Linked DNA regions of Homo sapiens: region 1 is linked to region 2. The links are contacts of gene promoters, found by promoter capture Hi-C in blood cells and fetal thymus (Javierre and others, 2016). All regions are on one chromosome and are shown on one strand. Each heading gives the region's core, a stretch centred on a gene start or on the middle of the fragment in contact. The rest is flanking DNA. Distances are from core to core; before and after follow the strand shown.

The links. The method cuts DNA at HindIII sites, captures the fragments that hold promoters and counts their contacts. A CHiCAGO score of 5 or more calls a contact.
Region 1: a fragment that was not itself captured here is called in contact with the fragment with the promoter of DZIP1L in region 2 in 1 of 17 cell types (M0 macrophages); the score reaches 5.2 in M0 macrophages.

The regions. Positions count from the first base shown.
Region 1 is chr3:138,942,385-138,945,497 of GRCh38, forward strand. It overlaps FOXL2 (forkhead box L2), which reads right to left. Exons shown (of 1, transcript NM_023067.4): 1 at 1,840-3,113. It overlaps LINC01391 (long intergenic non-protein coding RNA 1391), which reads right to left and starts at 1,636. Exons shown (of 3, transcript NR_121649.1): 1 at 1,582-1,636; 2 at 1-234. RefSeq lists an enhancer at 2,139-2,728. The HindIII fragment of the contact is 2,195 bases long and covers 154-2,348 here.
Region 2 is chr3:138,113,802-138,117,812 of GRCh38, forward strand. It overlaps DZIP1L (DAZ interacting zinc finger protein 1 like), which reads right to left and starts at 1,807. Exons shown (of 16, transcript NM_173543.3): 1 at 1,527-1,807. RefSeq lists enhancers at 1,118-1,619, 1,620-2,119 and a silencer at 1,242-1,461. The HindIII fragment of the contact is 15,110 bases long and covers 1-4,011 here.

The sequences.
Region 1 (3,113 bases), core at 1-2,500, 830 kb after region 2:
TGGTGAGGCTGCTGCTCTCTTCCCAGCCTTGGGTGCCTTTTGCCTTTCAGTTCTCGGGGAGGAGACAGGCTGGTCCTTCATTGCTGGCCCCGGCCAACTTCTCCGTCTCACTGGAGGTGGGCTGCTACCTGCCCACCAGGGCTTGGTCCTGGAAGCTTCCCTCCCTTGCTTTCTCTGCTTGAGACGGCAGTTGGGGGAGTGCTGACAGCCAGCTTCAGAACAGGGAGCCTCTGCCTGATGAAGCAAAGGCTCTGTCCATATTACTTTATTTTTCAGCAAGCCAGGAATACACACCCACAAATGCACACATCACCAATGAGGTATGAATGCCACACACACTGTGGTCCCAGTAAGCACTTCCTAAGTGTTAGCCATATGATTATTACAATGCCAAAAATATATGCCCACTCTGCAGGCGAATGACAGACACACACACCTCCCACCCTGTCACCAATACACAACTGACACTGTACACACACATTTGCAGCAGATACAGACTACACAATTACTTGCCCATGGGCTAAATTTTCACGCTAGACAAAGCACAAACAGACATGCACACAGCAGGCTGCTTTCTGTTCTGCAACTCCCCTTAGCCAGATAGTGGAGCAGCCGGGCACCAAAGGCACCCAGACACCAGGCCTGACCAGCCTCTAGGGCTTCCTGCTCCAGCTGAGCCTCCCTCTCCATCCTGCTCCTGCCGGTTCCTGGTAAGCTCCAGTCCCAGTCTTGAGGTGATGCCCCCTGAGAATCCCCGTGGCTTGGTCTCCTGCCTTGTAGCCTCTCGCAGGATGCCTGTGGGGGGCGGGGGGCATTCTGAGCAGAAGCCACTTGGGCCCAACTATACATAACAGGATACCACCCTGAGGTTCCTACCGCCTGACCACTGGAGGGCTGAAGTGAGAGGCCTGCAGGCTCATTCCCGTGGCGCAAAACCGCTCCTGGCCCACCAGCCGGCCTGGACCTGCCGCCACATTGCTGGCCAGGCCCCGAGATAGACGGGGGGGGGGCAGTGAGGGCTGGGTGCGGGGTCTAGTCTCAGCTGAGCAGCAGCCCGCAAGAACCGGCGGATCTATCCTATCAGAAGTCGGAAGTCATCTATCCCATCAGAAGAGTGAAAGCCGACCACCCCCTAATCCGCCTGGGAGAACCAGACTGCAACCAGGTCAAACGCCTGTGTGCCTGCGCGGAAGCATGGATCTTAATTCGTTATTTGGGGATCTCAGTAAAGGAAGAGAGAGAAAGAAAAAAGACTAAATTTCTGCAGCCGCGAAGTATGTTCAATCCTTACTGAAACCTCCAAATCTCCTACCCATATCTCAAGGTAAATGAATTCTGACTATTAAAAATAATAAAGCAGTCACTTCTCACATTTGTACAGAGGTTAGCAGTTTGCAGCGCATTTCCACAACCAGAATTTTATCTATTAATGTTTGGAACAAACTCTTGGCTGTTATAGTTGACTCAAAATCGAAAAGTTTGAGAACAATAATAAAAACACAGCCAGCCCATACACCTAGTACAACTGTGTATGAGGTAGAATACAAACTTGAATAGGTACAAAAATAAACCAAGTCCTACCTACAGTCGCGCCTTGTGAACGAACCACGGCAGAAAAAGTCTTTCTGCTGACGTTAAACAGCCGCAACGGGCCAGTGATGACACAGAAAACAAACAATCCCAGGAAAACAAAGCAGCAGCGACAGCCACAAACGCCTGCCACCCCGGTTGCTCTCAATCTTTGTTTAACTCATTCTGAAAAAGATAAAATTTTGCTGAAAATCTTCCTCTTTTAACTAGCTGCTGAACTAAGGAGCGACAGAAATAAAGAAGTCCGTGTTAAAAGAAGGAACACAAAATTTATTCGGGAATCGACAAGGCAAAAAACAAAAACAAAACAAAAAAACACAACAAAAGTGCTCTAGTTCTCTCTAGAAAATTTGGTCCCCCAAACAACAAGCTACAGTACAACCAGGTCTATGGTTTTCGGGCCGGGCCGGCTCCGGGCCACAAGACCGCCTAGGTCGGCCGCTGCCGGGTTTCACATTTCTCCTTCCCAAGGTGGGAGAAGCAGGAGGTTTGAAAAACAAAAAGCAGGGAGGACGAGCCGTCCCAGCAGCGTGGGCCAGGCAGGCAGTGATCTCCCTGCCTCCAGGACTTGCATCGAAAGATCCGGGGACATTTGTTTTTGATTTTTTTCTTCAGATAGGGAGAGGGTGAAACTTCCCCAATTGGTAGACGAAACCATCTTTTATTGGATATATTCTCCTAACTCTGAACACAGCTTTTTGAAGGCCCAACAAAAACTCTAACGCAAATCTTCCAGAAGAGAAGATGAGGAATACTAAAGCTTTTGATTTTCATATTTGGATTTAGCAAACTCCAAGGCCACAATACTTCCCCGGTTGCCCGGTGAATTTTTTTTCCTTTTTTTTTTTTTAAATACTCTCTTAAAAAGTTCCACCGATCTTTCAAACAAAACATTAGCCAGCCGCCGGGGCCCGGAGGTGCCCGAAGCGACGGGACTGATAGCGGAGGAAACGCAGCCTCCCTCCGCGCCCGCCCGCGGTGTAAACCGAGTACAGGCCGTGGAGCCAGGCTGCCCCGGCTCCCGCTGGGTCCCAACCCCCGCCCCGCCTAGTGGGCCCCGCGGCAAGCGGCTTCTGAACAGCTTCAAGAGGGTTCGCGGAGCAAACACACGTATTGGTCCGTCCCTTTCTCGGGCAGCGCGGTCCCGCCATCAGTCCTGTCCGGCGCGTCTAGCCATGGACTGCACGGCAGTCGGGCGGGGAACGCGGAGAGCGAGCGCACCGACCTGTGAGAGAAGGCCAAGAGGTCTGCGCTGCCGACGCCCGGTCGCACCTCCGCCCCGGGCCCTTTCCGCGGTGAATTTGGGCAGGAGACGCTGGGGCTCCGGAAAGAGACGAGCCCAGTAGAAAGCGCGCAGAGAGGCAGCTTCAGGCCAGGGGAGTGCAAGGTCACAGAGGTCAGGGAGGTGAGCACAGGAGGACATAAACTGAGGGGACAAAGAGGAGCGACAGGAGCTTAGGAAAGCGAAAAAGCACAGAGGGACCCTGGGCGCTGGCTCCAGAGGCGGGCCCAGAGGGTGTGAG
Region 2 (4,011 bases), core at 557-3,056:
CAGCGCTCTCCTTACACCTGGCCTCCTATTCCCAGCAACTTTAAGGAGATATTTTTAAGTGGCCATGGTTTTATCAAAAGCCTATTAAGTTTTTGCCACAAACGGATTTTATTTAAAATAAAAATAGGGGTAGGTATTTGACTGATGTCTCTTGGGAGTGTTTTAGAGAAGAGGAATGAATACTGACATGTCCTATCTTCCCAGATGCAGAATTGTAAAACAAACAAACATAATTGCTTTTCACATGTAAAAGAAAACTGGCTTAGAACATACTAGCGTTTTCTTTGCCATGAAGGAGTTCACCTTCAGTGACTAAGCCAGAACTACTAGAGCTGCCAGGCCTAGGGACAGGAGACATTGCCAGTGCTTAGCCAGGCTGGCCAGGACTAACCATCTCTGCAAGGAGTCCACAAGAAGCCTCAGGGCAGCCTTTCCCTGCTCCTATCAATTTGAGTTGAGCAAAAAACCTTTGACCAAATATCAGCTCCATGGCACAACCCACAGTTATGGTGCCCACATGAACTCAGGTTTCTGTTCCCAACCTGAAGCATACAACTTCATGAGGTATTTTATCAAGTTAGATAGTATCAAAAAATATTCCCAGATGAGGGAGGTGTCTGACCAAGACAGTCAGAAGGCCCCTTATCAGCCACTAGACTGGAGGATCAGCCTTCCCTAAGCAGGATTGTTCTCACTGGCCAGTCCTCACATCCGGGAGGGGGAGGAGAGGTGCTAGGGGCTGCAACTGAGAAGGGAGAGATCACCCACCCTATCTGCAGATGAGGGTGTGAGAAGCCAAGTCAGAACACCCCATACTTCCCAGGCCTCTCTCCAAAGTCCTGTTAGAAATCGAATTCCAGGAGACCAGGCAGGGGCAGCCTAGGCCCTGGGCCCCTAGGAAGTGCTCCGTGAACTAGGCCCTGCCCAGGCAGCCTCGGACCCCCTCCTCTGCCCTGCCTCCTGATCCCTGTCCTGCACTGAGCAGGTCTTCGGTGGACTTTATGCGCAGCCACCTCAGGATGAAAATACCACGTCTGCCTCCTGCTGAGGTCCAGCCCAGGAAAGGAAGAAGGGGAACGAAAGATGCCAATGCGATTGCTTTTAAATCACCTCATTACTAAAAGAATCCTCCTTTACCTACGGCACTCAGATCATCAAGCCCTCCCAAATCACTTTTCTTTTTTCAAAAAGTAAAAACCCAAGGCCGTCTTCCCAGTGAAGCCGAGTCTTGGGGCATCCCGTCATTCGTCCCCCGCGCACGGGTCCTTCCCTCCCTGGGCGCCGCAGTTCGGAGCAGGCCGAGGGGGCCGGGCTGCAGGGCCGCGCCGGGCCAGAAGGGCGCGCCCTGGGCAGCGCGGACGCACGCAGCCGGCTCCTCCCGCGCCCCGCTGCACCCCGGCAGGGAGTTCGCCCCCGCTAATGTTTAACCTCCCGAATCGCTGATCCCTCGGACTGCAGCCAAGCTACCCACCCGCCCCGCTCCCGGGACGAATTCCTGGCATAGTTTTCCCGCGCGGCCCGCTCACCGTGGGGTCTCCTGGAGCCGGGGACGGCGGGAAGACGTCTCGAGGTGGCGGCTCCCATACTCGCCCCACGTCCCGCCTCCAGACTTGCTCCACCGCCCCAGACAGCCCAGAGATGGTTCCCGGAATGCTCACCGCCCGCCGTTCCCGGGATGCTTCCCCAGCCCCACGCAGTCCGGGCGCTCTCTGCGGCGGAGGCAGAGCCTGCCCGGCCCACTCCAGTGCCGCCAACCTGCGGGACCGCGGACAGAGAGCTCCTCGGTGCGTCGGTCAGCTCGTGGCTTGGGGTCTCTGGTGCCTCCAGCTCCTACTACAGCCGCCCCGCCCCACCTCAAGAAGAGGTGGAGCCTCTCCCGGCCCCTCTCGGACGAGCTATTTTTAGGTCTGTAACGGATGGGGGAAGGCGGGAATGCCACGTTTAATCCGTTAGTAAAATCCAGGATCCAAGTGAATGGCTTCCTGGCCTTGCTGAGAGGCTGGACTTGCCCCGGTTTCCCCACACCCTGCCTCCGGTACAATCGATAGCCTGCTGTGCAGGGGCGGCCGCACCCCCCGGGCAGATAGCCCTGCCCACCCTCCTAAAGGGACCGTCCTGGTTTCTTCCTGACCGGATCCCAAGCTAGGAGAGTTCTTTGGGTGTGCCCCAGGTCTGATCAGACAGACAGCAGCCACCTTCCCTCCGCAGCCCCCACCCACCACCCCCTACCCTCCCAACCTGCTGGTTTGCCCTGGGGATGCCAACTTGGAAACCCAGGACTGAAAAACTTATTTTTTCTCCTGATATTAGTCCCTGATCTCTTCCCATAGTAGTAGTTGCTTTGCTGAGATTCCGTTTTGTGGGCACCGTAACTGTGAGTTGTGCCATAGAGCTGATATTTGGTCAAAATGTTTGTTGCTCAACTCAAATTGATAGGAGCAGGGAAAGGCTGCCCTGAGGCTTCTTGTGGACTCCTTGCAGAGATGGTTAGTCCTGGCCAGCCTGGCTAAGCACTGGCAATGTCTCCTGTCCCTAGGCCCGGCAACTCTAGTAGTTCTGGCTTAGTCACTGAAGGTGAACTCCTTCATGGCAAAGAAAACGCTAGTATGTTCTAAGCCAGTTTTCTTTCACATGTGAAAAGCAGTTATGTTTGTTTTACAATTCTGCATCTGGGAAGATAGGACATGTCAGTATTCATTCCTCTTCTCTAGAGCACTCACAAGGGGCATCAGTCAAATACCTACCCCTATTTTTATTTTAAATAAAATCCTTTTGTGGCAAAAACTTAATAGGCATTTGATAAAACCATGGCCACTTAAAAATATCTCCTTAAAGTTGCTGGGAATAGGAGGCCAGGTGTAAGGAGAGCTCTGCGCCTGGTGGAGGGAACCTCTGTCTCGCTGCTTGAAGGTTCTAGGAGTCGCTGCAGCCCCCATGAGGGTCAGGGAAGAGTGGGAAAAAAGCTCCTTTTCACACACACTCTCTCTCTCTCCACTCCGCAACTCTTCTCCCTCCCTCTTTCTCTTTTTTCCATTTCAAAGGCTTTCGTCCCACCACAATCTCAATCTGCCAAGCTCTACATTTTGAGGCAGCCAAAGCAAATGTGTATGGGAACAAGCGTTGTCAAGGACTTGCAGGGAAACTGGAACTCCTGTGCATTGCTGGTGGGAATGTAAAATGGTACCATTACTGTGGATACAGAATGGTAGTTCCTCAAAAAATTAAACAAGAATTGCCAAAAGATCCAACAATTCCATTTCTGGGTATATACCCCAAAGAACTGAAAGCAGGGATTCAAACAGATATTTGTATACTCATGTTCATAATAGCATTATTCACAATAGCCAAAAAGTGGAAACAATTCAAATGTCTATCGACAGATTAATGGATAAGCAAAATGTGGTATATCCATACAATGTAATATTAACTTTAAAAGGGAAGGAAATTCTGACACATGAATGAACCTTGAAAACTGTCTTAGTCTATTCAGGCTGCTATAACAAAATACCATTGAGTGGGTAGCATATAAACAATAGAAGTTTTTTTCTTACAGTTCTGGAGGCTGGGAAGTCCAAAATCAAGACATTGGCAGATTCGGTGCCTGGTGAGGGCCTGTTTCCTGGTTGATAGGCTGTCATCTTCTCACTGCACCCTCACTTAGTAGAAGGGGGCTGGCTAGCTCTCTGGGGTTTCTTTCATAAGGGCACTAGTCCCAATTATGAGGACTCTACCTTCATGACCTAACCACCCCCCAAAGGCCCCACCTCCCAATACCGTCACCTTGGGGGTCAGGATTTCAACCCCATTTTGCAGGGACACAAACATTCAGATCAAGGCAAAAGCATTATGCTAAATGAAATAAGCTGGACACAAAAGGACAAATATTGTATTATTCCACTTATACCTGGAAATATTGTATGATTCCACTTGTACCTAGAATAGTCCATTCACAGAGACAGAAAGTAGAATAGTGGTTACCAGTGGCTGGAGGAGGGGGAATGAGTAGTTATT